Linked DNA regions of Homo sapiens: all the other regions are linked to region 3. Evidence: promoter capture Hi-C in 16 types of primary human blood cells and fetal thymus (Javierre and others, 2016). All regions are on one chromosome and are shown on one strand. Each heading gives the region's core, a stretch centred on a gene start or on the middle of the fragment in contact. The rest is flanking DNA. Distances are from core to core; before and after follow the strand shown. Region 1 overlaps DNAJC1 (DnaJ heat shock protein family (Hsp40) member C1). Region 2 overlaps DNAJC1 (DnaJ heat shock protein family (Hsp40) member C1). Region 3 holds the start of ARMC3 (armadillo repeat containing 3). Region 4 has its middle 14 kb from the start of DNAJC1.

What was found. Contacts are between HindIII fragments. The CHiCAGO score rates a contact against its expected background, and 5 or more counts as called.
Region 1: a fragment that was not itself captured here is called in contact with the fragment with the promoter of ARMC3 in region 3 in 1 of 17 cell types (naive CD8 T cells); the score reaches 5.5 in naive CD8 T cells.
Region 2: a contact is called between a fragment that was not itself captured here and the fragment with the promoter of ARMC3 in region 3, in 1 of 17 cell types (naive CD8 T cells). The highest score is 5.1, in naive CD8 T cells.
Region 4: a contact is called between a fragment that was not itself captured here and the fragment with the promoter of ARMC3 in region 3, in 4 of 17 cell types (endothelial precursors, total CD8 T cells, activated CD4 T cells and 1 more). The highest score is 8.1, in endothelial precursors.

The regions. Positions count from the first base shown.
Region 1 is chr10:21,996,421-21,999,747 of GRCh38, reverse strand. The region is part of intron 1 of DNAJC1 (DnaJ heat shock protein family (Hsp40) member C1); the gene reads left to right. Among named protein-coding and RNA genes, the nearest start is that of DNAJC1, 5.6 kb to the left of the region's middle. The HindIII fragment of the contact is 6,758 bases long and covers 1-3,327 here.
Region 2 is chr10:21,979,650-21,982,679 of GRCh38, reverse strand. The region is part of intron 1 of DNAJC1 (DnaJ heat shock protein family (Hsp40) member C1); the gene reads left to right. Among named protein-coding and RNA genes, the nearest start is that of DNAJC1, 23 kb to the left of the region's middle. The HindIII fragment of the contact is 2,258 bases long and covers 558-2,815 here.
Region 3 is chr10:22,926,707-22,929,936 of GRCh38, reverse strand. ARMC3 (armadillo repeat containing 3) reads right to left here and starts at 1,884. Exons shown (of 19, transcript NM_173081.5): 1 at 1,831-1,884. The HindIII fragment of the contact is 5,434 bases long and covers 1-3,230 here.
Region 4 is chr10:22,016,005-22,018,928 of GRCh38, reverse strand. No RefSeq gene overlaps it. Among named protein-coding and RNA genes, the nearest start is that of DNAJC1, 14 kb to the right of the region's middle. The HindIII fragment of the contact is 917 bases long and covers 1,104-2,020 here.

The DNA.
Region 1 (3,327 bases), core at 799-3,298, 930 kb after region 3:
GGTGTGGTGGCTCACGCCTGTAATCCCAGCACTTTGGGAGGCTGAGGCGGGTGGATCACGAGGTCAGGAGTTCAAGACCAGCCTGGCCAACATGGTAAAACCCCGTTTCTACTAAAAAGATAAAAATTAGCCAGGCGTGGTGGCAGGCGCCTGGAATCCCAGCTACTCGGGAGGCTGAGGTAGAGAACTGCTTGAACCCGGGAGGCGGAGGTTGCAGTGAGCCAAGATTGTGCCACTGCACTCCAGCCTGGGCGACAGAGCGAGACTCCGTCTCAAAAAAAAAAAAAAAAAAAAAAGAGTCAAGAAGATGGAGGGGAATCAACAAAGAAGATAGAGCAGGAACGACCAGTAAGGTAGGAGGCAAACCAATACAAGGTTCTCTTCAGTCAAGTGAAAAAAGTGTTTCAAAGACAAAGGGATCAGCTGGGTTAAATGATGATGATGATTCAAATAAGATGAGCTTTGAGACTTCACCGTTGGAATTAACCGTATGGCGGTCACAGGCTACCTCAGTAAGAACTGTTTTGGTGAAGTGGTGAGTTCAGTAGTCTGGGTAGATTGGGTTCAGGAGAGAATGAAAGGGAAGAATTGGAGACAATTAATATAGAACATTCTTTTGAGATATCCATATCCTAAACTAGAAGGCAGAGATGGTAGTGACTGTCTGTGGCATCTTCTTTATCCCCTTATCCACCAGGTATAAGATAACTCAGTTACTCTCTAAGCTCTATAATCTGAATAACAGATGACTTAGAACTTGGACCAGACCACCTTATGACCTTGGACAAGTTAGTTGCCTCATTTTTAGGACAGATGGTAGCTTTTTATTTTCTTCATAGTAAGGCACATAGTAAACACCTAAATATTTATTGAATCAAACATTATAAACATTGTAACTAAATGCAAACTGTAATTCCCCAAACAAGTAGTTGCTTGACAGTTTTTACTCAACAGATTTTACTTCTATGTAATCTTTCACAGCCTTCAGGCAGCAGAAGAATCTTCTTCCATGTATCCTTAGATTTCACGTCCATTCTAGAAGTCTAGAAAGGGGTTGCAGAAGTCTTTGTTGGGGGGTATATACAGATGATTTATTAGTCATTCATACCATGTTTAGAATGACTTTAATAATAGGGCACTCCAATTTGGATATTGCATCTTTTCAGAGGAGATGGGGGGAAGATGAGAGAGGAGTGTAGGAAAAAAGATGTGCTATTGAAAGATCTTTCGTTACCATCTTAAATTATAGGTTCCTGCACAGTATTTATATTTTGTGTAACAGCACCTGCTTCTCAGACACCTGTACTTCTTGTGGGGTCAGTGGCAATTCTGTATTTCTTTTTTTTTTTTTTTTTTTTGAGATGGAGTCTTGCTCTGTCGCCCAGGCTGGAGTGCAGTGGCGCGATCTTGGCTCATTGCAACCTCTGCCTCCTGGGTTCACGCGATTCTCCTGCCTCAGCCTCCCGAGTAGCTGGGATTACAGGCACCTGCCACCATGCCTGGCTAATTTTGTATTTTTAGTAGAGATGGGGTTTCGCCATGTTGGTCAGGCCGATCTTGCACTCCTGACCTCAGGTGATCCACCCACCTCGGCCTCCCAAAGTGTTGGGATTACAGGCGTGAACCACTGCGCCCAGCCTCTATATTTCTTTTAATTGTCTTTTGGGACCATGACTTTCCTTATCCTTTGTATACAGTAATTCTAGCCAACAGTAAACACTTCATATTCATTTAAAAAAATCTGTGAATTGAAATAATGACAAGCTAAATTATCTTAAATTTTGTAGTATTTACTTTATGCTGAAGTCAAGATTTGTCTTCATGGTGCCAGTCAGTCATTACAGACTTCTATTTATGTAGCTAGAAAATGTGCTTCATTCTCTTTCTCTCGTGTTTTATAACTAAATCCTTATATTCAAATGAATGCTGAAACTTGGTTAACAGAAGAAAAGCAGAAGAACAGGGATGTGCTTATAAAATATTTGGATTTTAATTTTTAGATAGGAATTAATAAACCTTTTAAGCTCATTCGGCCTGTATTTTCAAATGTACAGATTAGCTAGCCTGTTTAGAGGAGGGACAATTATTGCCCATTCATCCGTGCCCCATGGTTGGGAGGAACTTCCCTAAAAAAACACCACTGATCACTAGACCCATCTCTAACATCTTACCATGGCGGTGTGAGTTACCTTACTGGAGGGTGATTGCCTTTGCTCTGTTTTGCTTGATTAGGAAGAGCTGATCAGTCAGAAAGCTATGAGTAGTGGGAATCAGTCTCTTTGCACCTCTCTGCCCAGACCAGTAAGGCAATTATCCTAACCAGACTTACCCTTGAGCATACTGTCTCAAAGTCTAGAATGTAGAGGAGAGGGCACAAATTGCTAGCAAGCCCATTTGGCCATCACATTTAACCTGTATTCTTCAATAGCTGTATCAGTTATAAAGGTTCATCTCTTGTCTGCCCGACTCCTGTGTCCACTCAGTTTTTTGGATGGGAAAAACCAGTTAATGGGGCCTCCCTAAAGCCCATCACAGTCCTTTTTAGAAATGAAGATGATGATTTCATTCATGAATGATGGTGAATTTGTACTGTGATTATCAATTTTGTCCAGTGATTCTTGCAGTGGAATCCACTGAGCTTGTGGTGTTGAGTGTAGTTCAGTCTTTCTCTGTGGAGTCTATTCCTTTGTACATGTGTGTTGTGTAATAATAGCTTCCCCATTTTTATTGTAGAATCCAATTTTTTTTAATTTGGAGAAAGAGATACACAGAATCTAGAATGGTAGATAACCTTTCAGTCATTTATATTTCTGATGTAGGCATGCATAGCGTTAGAGCTGAATAAGTACTTGTTTAATTGTATACATCTTTGCATCAGATAGAATTATCATAAAATTAGTTTTCTTATGTACACACTCTTTTTGTGATATGTATAGTTTAGTGGAAGATGCCTGAGCCAATTTTATGGGATAAAGCAAGTCTATTGTGAAAATTTTGCCACATATAATCTAGAGCTGATGGAACAGAGACTTTCTTTTAGTTTTAAGTTTCCTTTTTCCTTTTATGCTATTCTCAGTTTTTTCTTTACACTAATTATGAGAACACTCTTAGAATATTGTATCTTTTGTTATTCATAGACAATAGCCTAAGTTGAACTGGGAAAGTGGAATGGCTTCTGCTATTACAATTATTCCTAGAAATATATTCTAAAACGTTATATGGGTTACCAGTTTACCTAGTGATTGGTTTAATGTGGTTAATTTCACAATCATATTTTGTTCAATGTTGAGAATAAAACAGAGGTTGAGGTTATTTGACTTGATTGCT
Region 2 (3,030 bases), core at 437-2,936, 950 kb after region 3:
GTGGTTTTGATTTGCATTTCCCTAGTGACTACTGTTATTGAGCATCTTTTCATGTGGGTTATTGGTCATTTGTCTTCTTTGGTGAAATGTCTGTTGAAGTCCTTTGTCCACTTTTAATTGGATTTTTTTGTTGTTGGTTGTAGGAGTTATTCATATATTCTGGATATTAATCTATCAGATATATAATTAGCAAATATTTTCTCCCATTCTGTGGGTTGTTTATTTACTCTCTTACTAGTGTCCTTTGATGCACAAAAGGTTTTCATTTTGATGAGGTCCAATTTATTATTTTTTTCTTTTTTTTGCCTGTACCTCTGTCATATCAAAAAATCATCACCAAATCTAATATCATGAAGTTTTTTCCCATATATTTTCTTCTAAGAGTTGTATAGTTTTAACTCCTATGTTAGTCCTTGATCTATTTTTAAGTCAATTTATATATATGATGTGAGGCGTCAAAGAAAAGTAGAGCCTGACAGTAGTTAAAGCAGTAAAAGCAAATTTTAATCAGGAACAGTTGCAGTAGGAGAAAAGAGACTTCGTTACAGAATGAAGCTTAATTCTGAATACAACATGGAAAGTGGAGATTTATAGCCAAGGAACAGGGTCAGTGGATGGAAGATTAGAGGAAACATCAGAGTTAAGGGGGTCTCTGGTGAAACCAATTTGACAAGGTTTTTGCCAAAGGCAGGCCAAGGTAATCAGGTATCGCCTGGGGGTTGGTGGGGAATGAGGAATTTGGTCAGATATATTGAGGGTGATCGGATATCAATGGTAGGGTTTCTGGCTTAACTCTCTTAGCAGAATTCTTGCTAAAATTGGACGATGCAAAGGAGGAGATAGAAGTTCAAAGGTTGAGGCCTAGCTGTGAAGATGGTTTAGAGGAGCCTGACTAGAGTTTAGTCAAGGAGACAGTCTTTGTTAAAGGTAAGGGTTCAATTTTATTCTTTTGCATGCAGATATCCAGTTTTCCTGGCACCGTCTGCTGAAAAGGCTGTTTTTGAATACACATATTATCTCATGTAATCTTTAAAACAGCCCTACTTAGTAAGGCATTTTTTCCCCATTTTACAAATGAGGAAATTGAATTTCAGAGACTTGCCCAGTCTCAGAAAACTAACAACTTGTGGAGCTTATCTGTTAGGCTCAAAGATCATAACTGTTATTTTGTAATTGTTTCTTACTATTTAAATGTTACCTATTCTTAAAGGCCCAGCCCAAATTTAATCCCATTATTAAAGATTTTCTCCATTGCTTGCTCTTCCAATCAGATATGACTGCTCTCAATTCCATGGCAAATTTTTAATAGATTCTTAATTTATAGTACACCGCAAATGGTATGTGCTGAATACATGCCAAGTGAGTAAATGATAGAATTATCATTCAGAATAATCTAACTGGTCTCCATACCATCGTAAACTATGAGTTGAAAGGATGGAAGTAATCAGGGAAAAATGTAATTCTACATTTTGCTTGAGAAAATCATTTGCACAAATATAAAACGGGGAGATCTGGTTTGACTTCAGTAAAGATGAACACTCAGGTTTTAGTTGTTTACATGCTGAATTAGGCCAACAGCATTATGCATCTGCTTTTAAAATTCAACTCTAATTTGCATTAATAAACATAGAAACAGAGAGTGACTTGATCACAGAAAATGAGAAATTTAATGCAATCTCCATCAATGTATTATAAACACTCCTGGTACCACACTTAAGGAGGAATATTAACAAACTGAATTTTTTTTTAAGGGGAGCTACAAATACAGTAGGGTTTCTGGGAATCTTGCCCAAAAAGAAGAACACATTTAGTCTGAAAAGGAAAGGCTAAGGAAATATGTGATCACTGACTTCAAATATTAGACTTAAGAAATATATTTTAAAACTTTTTATGTATAATTTTTCATTTTGAAATAATTTTAGGCTTAACAAAAGGTGGCAAAAATAATACAGTTCTCATATACCTTTCACCTGGCTTTCTCAGATGTAACCTTAATAAATTGATAAAAACCAGGACATTAACACTGTTACAGTGTTATCTACAGATGTTATTCAGATTTTCCAGCTGTCCCATTAACATCCTTTTCCTGGTGCAGAATCACACATTTAGTTGTTTTATCTCATTTATGTCCACTCTGGGACAGTTCCTCAGTCTTTCTTGACCTTGACACTTTTGGAGAATATTGGACAGTTATATTTTAAAGTGTCCCACAGTTTGGGTTTGTCTAATATTTCCTCATGATTAAATTCAAACTATGCATGTTTGTTATAAATACTATGGAAGTGGTGTGCCCTTTTCAGTGTATTGTATCAGGAGGCACATGATATCCATATATCTCATCACAGATGATGTTAACTTTGATCATTTGGTTAAGTGTCTGCCAGGTTTCTCCACCGTAAAATTACTATTTTCTCTTTGTTAATTTCTTTGTAGGAAATTACTTCTTAATGGACAGAACTAGGAAATATATGTGTGTATATGTGTATATAGTTTGTTCAATATCTGGATTTTGTGCCTGTTTTTGTTCACTGCCATTTCTAGCACTTGTTTAGCCCTGTGGTCAGTAGATATTTGTAGCTAATAATATAGAATAGTGTAAAGTTAGACTAGATAACCTAAGGACTTTCCAGCCCCGCAACTCTGTTAATGTTTTGATTCTGGAAAAATAAGCTGGGGAACAAGACAAAAATAAACTCTGAACAGGATTCATAATAAGCAGAATGCAAAAGTCATAGGACTTTTGACTGCAAAAGTCATAGGAGCAGACATATGCAGTTTTGACATATGACTGCAAAAGTCATAGGAGCAGAAAGCTTTGATTATTATCAAAAACAATGAAGGTGTCAAAGGCCTGGAACAAAGTTTGCTGTGGGTAGGTAAGAAAGAGAAGCTTGATAATCGTTTTATCCATTGTACCTTAGCCGGATTGACTTGCAGAAGGTAAAGCCATGGTGAAAAAAAAAAAAAGAAAAATTATAAATAAGGATATCTCCTTTACAGGTATTCTGTCTTTAGTTTACTTTCCATTAT
Region 3 (3,230 bases), core at 635-3,134:
TTAGAAGAGCTTACACAGACAGTATTGCAATGATAGAGTGTCTCCTAAGCTAAAGAATGAAGTTAAAAGCCTATGTGTTTTATCATGGCCCGGCGTGGTGGCTCACTCCTGTAATCCCAGCACTTTGGGAGGCTGAGGCGGGTGGATCACCTGAGGTCAGGAGCTCAAGACCAGCCTGGACAACATGGCAAAACTCTGTCTCTACTAAAAATACAAAAATTAGCCTGGAGTGGCGGTGGCATGTGCCTGCATTCCCAGCTACTGGGGAGGCTGAGGCAGGAGAATTGCTTGAGGCCGGGAGGCGGAGGTTGCAATAAGCTGAGATCACCCCATTGCACTCCAGCCTGGGTGACAGAGCGAGACTCTGTCTCCTCCCCCAAAAAAAGCCTATGTGTTTTATCACCATATTGGGTATGATAGTTAATGGAGGAGAGACTGAACAGCTGACATAGGTCGGTGGCAATGAGCTATGGAGATGATCCTTACAAGGGTAATACATTTCACTGTGGAGAATTTGGAAAACAAGGGCACAACGAATAAAATAAAAATCACCCAAAGATAAGCTCAGAGAGATCAATACTATTTCTTTTCTTTTCCTTTCCTTTCCTTTCCTTTCCTTTCTTTTTCTTTTTCTTTCTCTTTCTCTCTCTCTTTCTCTCTCTCTCTCTCCCTCTCTCTCTCTCTTCTCTTTTTTTCTTTTTCTTTTTCTTTTTTGAGACAGAGTCTCACTCTGTTGCCCAGGCTGGAGAGTGGCCTGATCTTGGCTCATTGCAACCTCCACCTCCCAGGTTTAAGAGATTCTCCTGCCTCAGCCTCCTGAGTAGCTGGGATTACAGGTACCCGCCACCACGCTCGGCTAATTTTTGTATTTTCAGTAGAGACAGGTTTCCCCACATTGACCAGGTTGGTCTCGAACTCCTGACTTCAGGCGATCCACCCGCCTCAGCCTCCCAAAGTGCTGGGGTTGTAGGCGTGAGCCACCGTACCTGGCTTTGTGTGTTTTTCTAAAGTGATTTTAACATCCTGCCTCAACTTCTATCCCCTACTTTCACCTTCCCTTCCTGGGTTCATATTCCTACTAAATTCTTATATTAACAAATAAATTCATGAAGTCTCAGTTTCCCTTCATTGCTTTAATAATCTCCAGTGGATTAGCATAACATGCCATTACAAATATTTTAAAATCCCTTAGCTATCTAGCCAGTCTCTGATTGTTGAAATTTGTTTCTAATTTTCTGGAAATATGGACAGGGCTGAAAGAACGTCCTTGGACATAAAATTTTCATCCATTATCCCCAACTATTTCTTTAGGATAAATCTCTAGCAGTAAATTAACTGGGTGAAAACTTCAGGGCATTGGATATGCAAACAACTCTGCTCTAAAAATGCATCTTCTTGACTACTGGAGCCATTTTTTTTTTCACGAGTTGATTGGTCCTTTGTATTTGTTCTTCGTGAACGTTCAGCCTATGATTTTAAATATTTTCTAATGAGTTCTGCTTTGAGAAGATTTAAAGAGGAGGAGGGCTCAAGAAATCGAGGCCACTTCTGAGTTGCTCACAGTCAAGTAACGGAATCTGACTTGATCTCACCTCAGATCCCCTCTCGGGCCTCAGTTTTGTCACCTGTTGAATGGGAGGTGGCGGGATGCTTACGAAACCCACCCCAAGCCCCGTCTAACCCTGCGGGCGCGAGGCAGAAACTAACAACGCCCAGCAAGGTGTTGCCTCACTGACCCAAGCAGTCTGCGCCCACGTGGCACCTTCTCCTTTCCCAGGTTTTCCTCAGGCCTCTGCCTTGGGCCTCCCCACCCCACGGGGTTACCTTTACCTGCCGGGAGATCCCGCCGAGTAGCTAGCTGCTCCGCAAACCCAGCAGACGAACCCCCAGTCCCTTGTTGTGCCTCGTTGCTAGGCGACGCCACGCCGCGCCGCGCCTGCGCCCTGGGAACGCTCGGGGCTGCTAGGGCGCCCATTGTCCCGCCGAGGGCAGCGGCCAGTGCGGGAGGAGCCAAGTGCGTCCGCGATTACCTGAATCCAGTGCTTTAGGGGAGAATGGAAACTGGGGGTGGAAGCTGTAAATCAAGAGGCAGTTCAGCCTCAGTTTCTGGCCCAAGGACTGGCTGTGGGTTCAAATACGCAAATACTATTGCATTCTTCCAAATAGAGGCGTCAGCCGGAATCTCTATGCAGATGAAACCCACATCAGCCACCTCCTGCCCAGGCTCCGTTAAGCTGCAGACCTGCACTGCCACATCTCTTTGCACTAGGATGTCCAATCCGTTTCCACAGAACTTCTCATGGCCCTTCAAAGCCCCGTTCTCTTCCTCTTTCTTTCCTCTTCCTGCCATTCTTCCAATTGCCTAGACTCAGAAGGAGCTTCAATTTCCCTTCTTCCTCCCATGCCCCCCAACCACAGTCATCACTTCAGCCACTTCTTGGCGGCTTACATTTTGTTTCCTGCTTGTTCCCTTTCTCATATCCTTATTGTCACTTCAATCCAGCTCGTCATTTTTTGGCCTTCTGGCTGAGAAATTCAGTTGCTCTCTGCTTACAGTTCTTTCTACGTATCACAGGCAAATCGGCCATCCAGAAATCATCGTTCCAGTCTTGTCACTTCCCTACTCAAATGTCAGCGGCTTCCTAAGATAAATTTTCAACACATTGGCCTGGAATTTAAGACCGTCTGCTCCATCTCTACTCCATCTGTGCAACCACATTTTCAACCGATCTCCACCATCCAAGCTCCAGCCAAACTTACTGTTCCCGAAATTTTCCACACTTTTCTCTAGATTTTCTTGCTTATCTGTTCATCACTTCATTTTTCAACAAATATTTATAAAGTAGCTTCTATTTCCCAGGTCATGTGCAATACCTGAAATATTCTCTCATTTCCACTTAATTAAGCCCAGCTCAAATGCCATCTTCATAAAATATTTTTTGATTGCCTTTAGCAAAAAGTCTCTCCCTCTCCTCTTAGACTTTGCAAATTCCGTCTCCTACCGGCCCCTGTTGGTCTCCCAGTCCTAAGAATGATAGATGCTTCTTATAATTGCTACTTTTATATATCTTATGTTCTCTTCTCACCATTTAAATTGCCTGATAAACAGCTTTATAACAATTATTTGTATTCAGTTTTCCATGGTCAAATATCCGGTGTGACTTCTGTATAGAAAAGATCTTAAGTAATGGTCATGAAAGTAGGAAAAGGATTAAGACCAAGTAGCATCA
Region 4 (2,924 bases), core at 313-2,812, 910 kb after region 3:
ACTTTATGATTTTGCATGTAGATATCCAGTTTTCCCTGCACTATTTGTTGAAGACTGTTCTTCTCCCATTGAATGGTCTTAGCACCCTTGTGGAATATCATTTGACCATATGGTATATGAGAAGGGTTATTTCTGGCACCATTTGACAATATGGTACATGGGAAGGGTTATTTCATATACTGTAAGGTATATGAGAAGGGTTATTTCTCTCTTTTATTCCATTGGTCTATATGTCCGTCCTTATGCCAGTACCACACTGTTTTGATTACTGTAGCTTTGTAGTAAATTTTGAAATCAGGAATTGTGAGTCCTCCAACTCTGTTCTTTTTAAAGATTGTTTTGGCTATTTGAAGTCCTTTGAGATTCCACATGAATTTTAGTATGGATTTTTCTCCTTTTGCAAAAATCACTGGTGGGATTTTGATAGGGATTACATTGCCTCTGTAGATCACATTGAATAGTATTGACATCTTCATGATATTGTCTTCCAATCCATGAACACAGGATGTCTTTCCATTTATTAGTGTTGTCTTTCATTTCTTTCAGCAATGTTTTATAGTTTTTATAGTTCTTTTCCCTTGGCTTGGTTAAGTTTATTCCTAAATTTTTTATTGTTATTGATGCTATTGAAAATAGAGCTGTTTTATAAATTTCCTTTTTAGGTTTTTTATTGTTAGTATATAGAAACACAACTGATTTTCGTGTGATTATTTTGTATCCTGCAACTTTGCTGAATTTACTAGTTCTAATAGAGTGTGTGTGTGTGTGTGTGTGTGTGTGTATCTGTAATCTTTAGCCTTGCATTTACCTTTGATTTTTCCCTTTCTCTCTTGCCTATATATGCAAATAACCACCAGCTCATTTCAGTTTGTTTTGATTTCACAGTGTTTCTGATCTTTGACTCTCTTTAGTCTCCTTGCAATCCAATGTGATCAAATGACATTTGTATCCAGAATGTCTGGGATGGTGTGTGAAGAATTCATTTTCTAAAATAGTCATTTTATCTTGCTTTCCCACTCAAAACTCTAGGAGTTTCATGTAACAGTAGAGCTTCCAGTCTACTCCCCCCCTCATCTCAGAGGTAGCACTAGTAGTTAAAAGCTTAGGCTCTGGGGTCAGGAGGACCTGGTGGAGGTGGAGATGCTGCTTACTAGCTGTGTAGCCATAGTTAAGTTTCTCAGACCTGCTCATTCTTTTTTCAGCTGGAAACTGGTGATCATAATAATAACTCCCTTGTAGGGTTATTGGGAGGCTTAAATGGAATAATGAATGTAAAGCATTTAGTGAAATACTCTCTTTCCTGTCCTCTCTCCCTTTGAGGCCTTTAGCTTGACTGTTTCTCCAAAGACACAGATGAAACTGATCTCCTGCCTCCTCTTATCTGTGTTACTCTTTTGGCACTTACCACCTACTTCCTTGTACTGTTTATTATCTTTTTGTGTGTATCCGTGTTATCTTTCCTACCAAATTGTAAATTCTCCAAGGACTGAGAGATTGTCTTTTTTTTCTCTTCTTGTGTTTGTGGCATGTTGTAATACAATGACTTACGACATGGTAAAAGCTGAGTCAATATTTGCTGTTTAATTGTTTGACATAATGAAATCCTTCGGTGGCCTGATTTCCAACATCTTGAGAACTGATATTTCATTTATTTTATCTGAGTTTTTTTTTCAGTGTTTCAGACTTCCGATATTCATCTTGGTCAGAAGTATTAGTTCCCTACTTCGATTTTTAAAAGCTGACAACATTTAAAGATCACTAACAAGAAAGTATTAAAGATGTCGTTACTTCCTGGAAACCATCTGAGTATATTTCAACCTATGTCTCTATCAAAAGTGGGAAAAACGAAGATAGACCAGGGTGGCCAGATAACATACCCAGTTATATCTGAATGTCAGATAAACAACGAATGACTTTTTCATATAAGTATGTCTCATGCAATAGTTGCTTATCTGACATTCAATTTAATTAGGTATCCTGTATTTTTATTTGCTAAATCTGACAACCCTACCATGAAGCTTTAAGTTTCAGGGAAAAAGGAAAATGGGCATAAGCATTATTCTTTTGGAAATGAGACTATTCCTCTGTACTTAAAACAAAATGTTTCCGTGTCAAAAGAATACAGCTTGAGAGGTCATTATGAAACAACTTTTTACAACTATGACCTTACCTAAGATATGTGATGATAAAGCTAATGAAAGATAACATTAACTGAAATATTGACAAACAATGCTTTTGAATATGAATGAAAACATTGTTTCTGTGAAATGCAATTGTGTACCAAATCAAAGAACTGGCTGGGCTTAAAAATCTTTTCTAATGAGTACGTAAAATTGTCATAGCATTTGCATATCTCTGTCTTCCTGAAAATACTGCTGCTCGGTCTGTTGAAAGCATGACCTTGAACTTGCAGGAAATCTTGAGAAATTATCTGTGGCAAGTCCTACCACAACTGAGAAGAACATAATATAAATCAGAATTTCTTGGCTATATTTACTCAGGATGGCAATGAGAATTTTTATGTGATTGAAGAACTTTTGGACATATTATTCATTATGGCACCATCTTAGTATCTAACTTGTTTTTGAGTCATGAATAGTTTAATACATACTAATCAAAAATGAGTAATTGCAAGCAGTGTTTCTGTGGAGTCAGAGTTAACTTTGGACTTGTTACCAATGTAACCAATGATTTTCATCAATACAGCCGGTGAGTCAATTCATCACATCCTTTACCAAGTCCTTCACTTGGCCCCGGGTAGTGAAACATGGACGTCATCTTGGAAGTAGTAGCTTACTTAGAGCTGGATACTTTACTATAGCTTACTTGATTGTTTTTTTGTAGGAATCTGATGTAATACAGTCATATATCTGGCAGGAATCTGACATAATACCGTCGGTTATAACTCTGAGAGAGAGACAGGA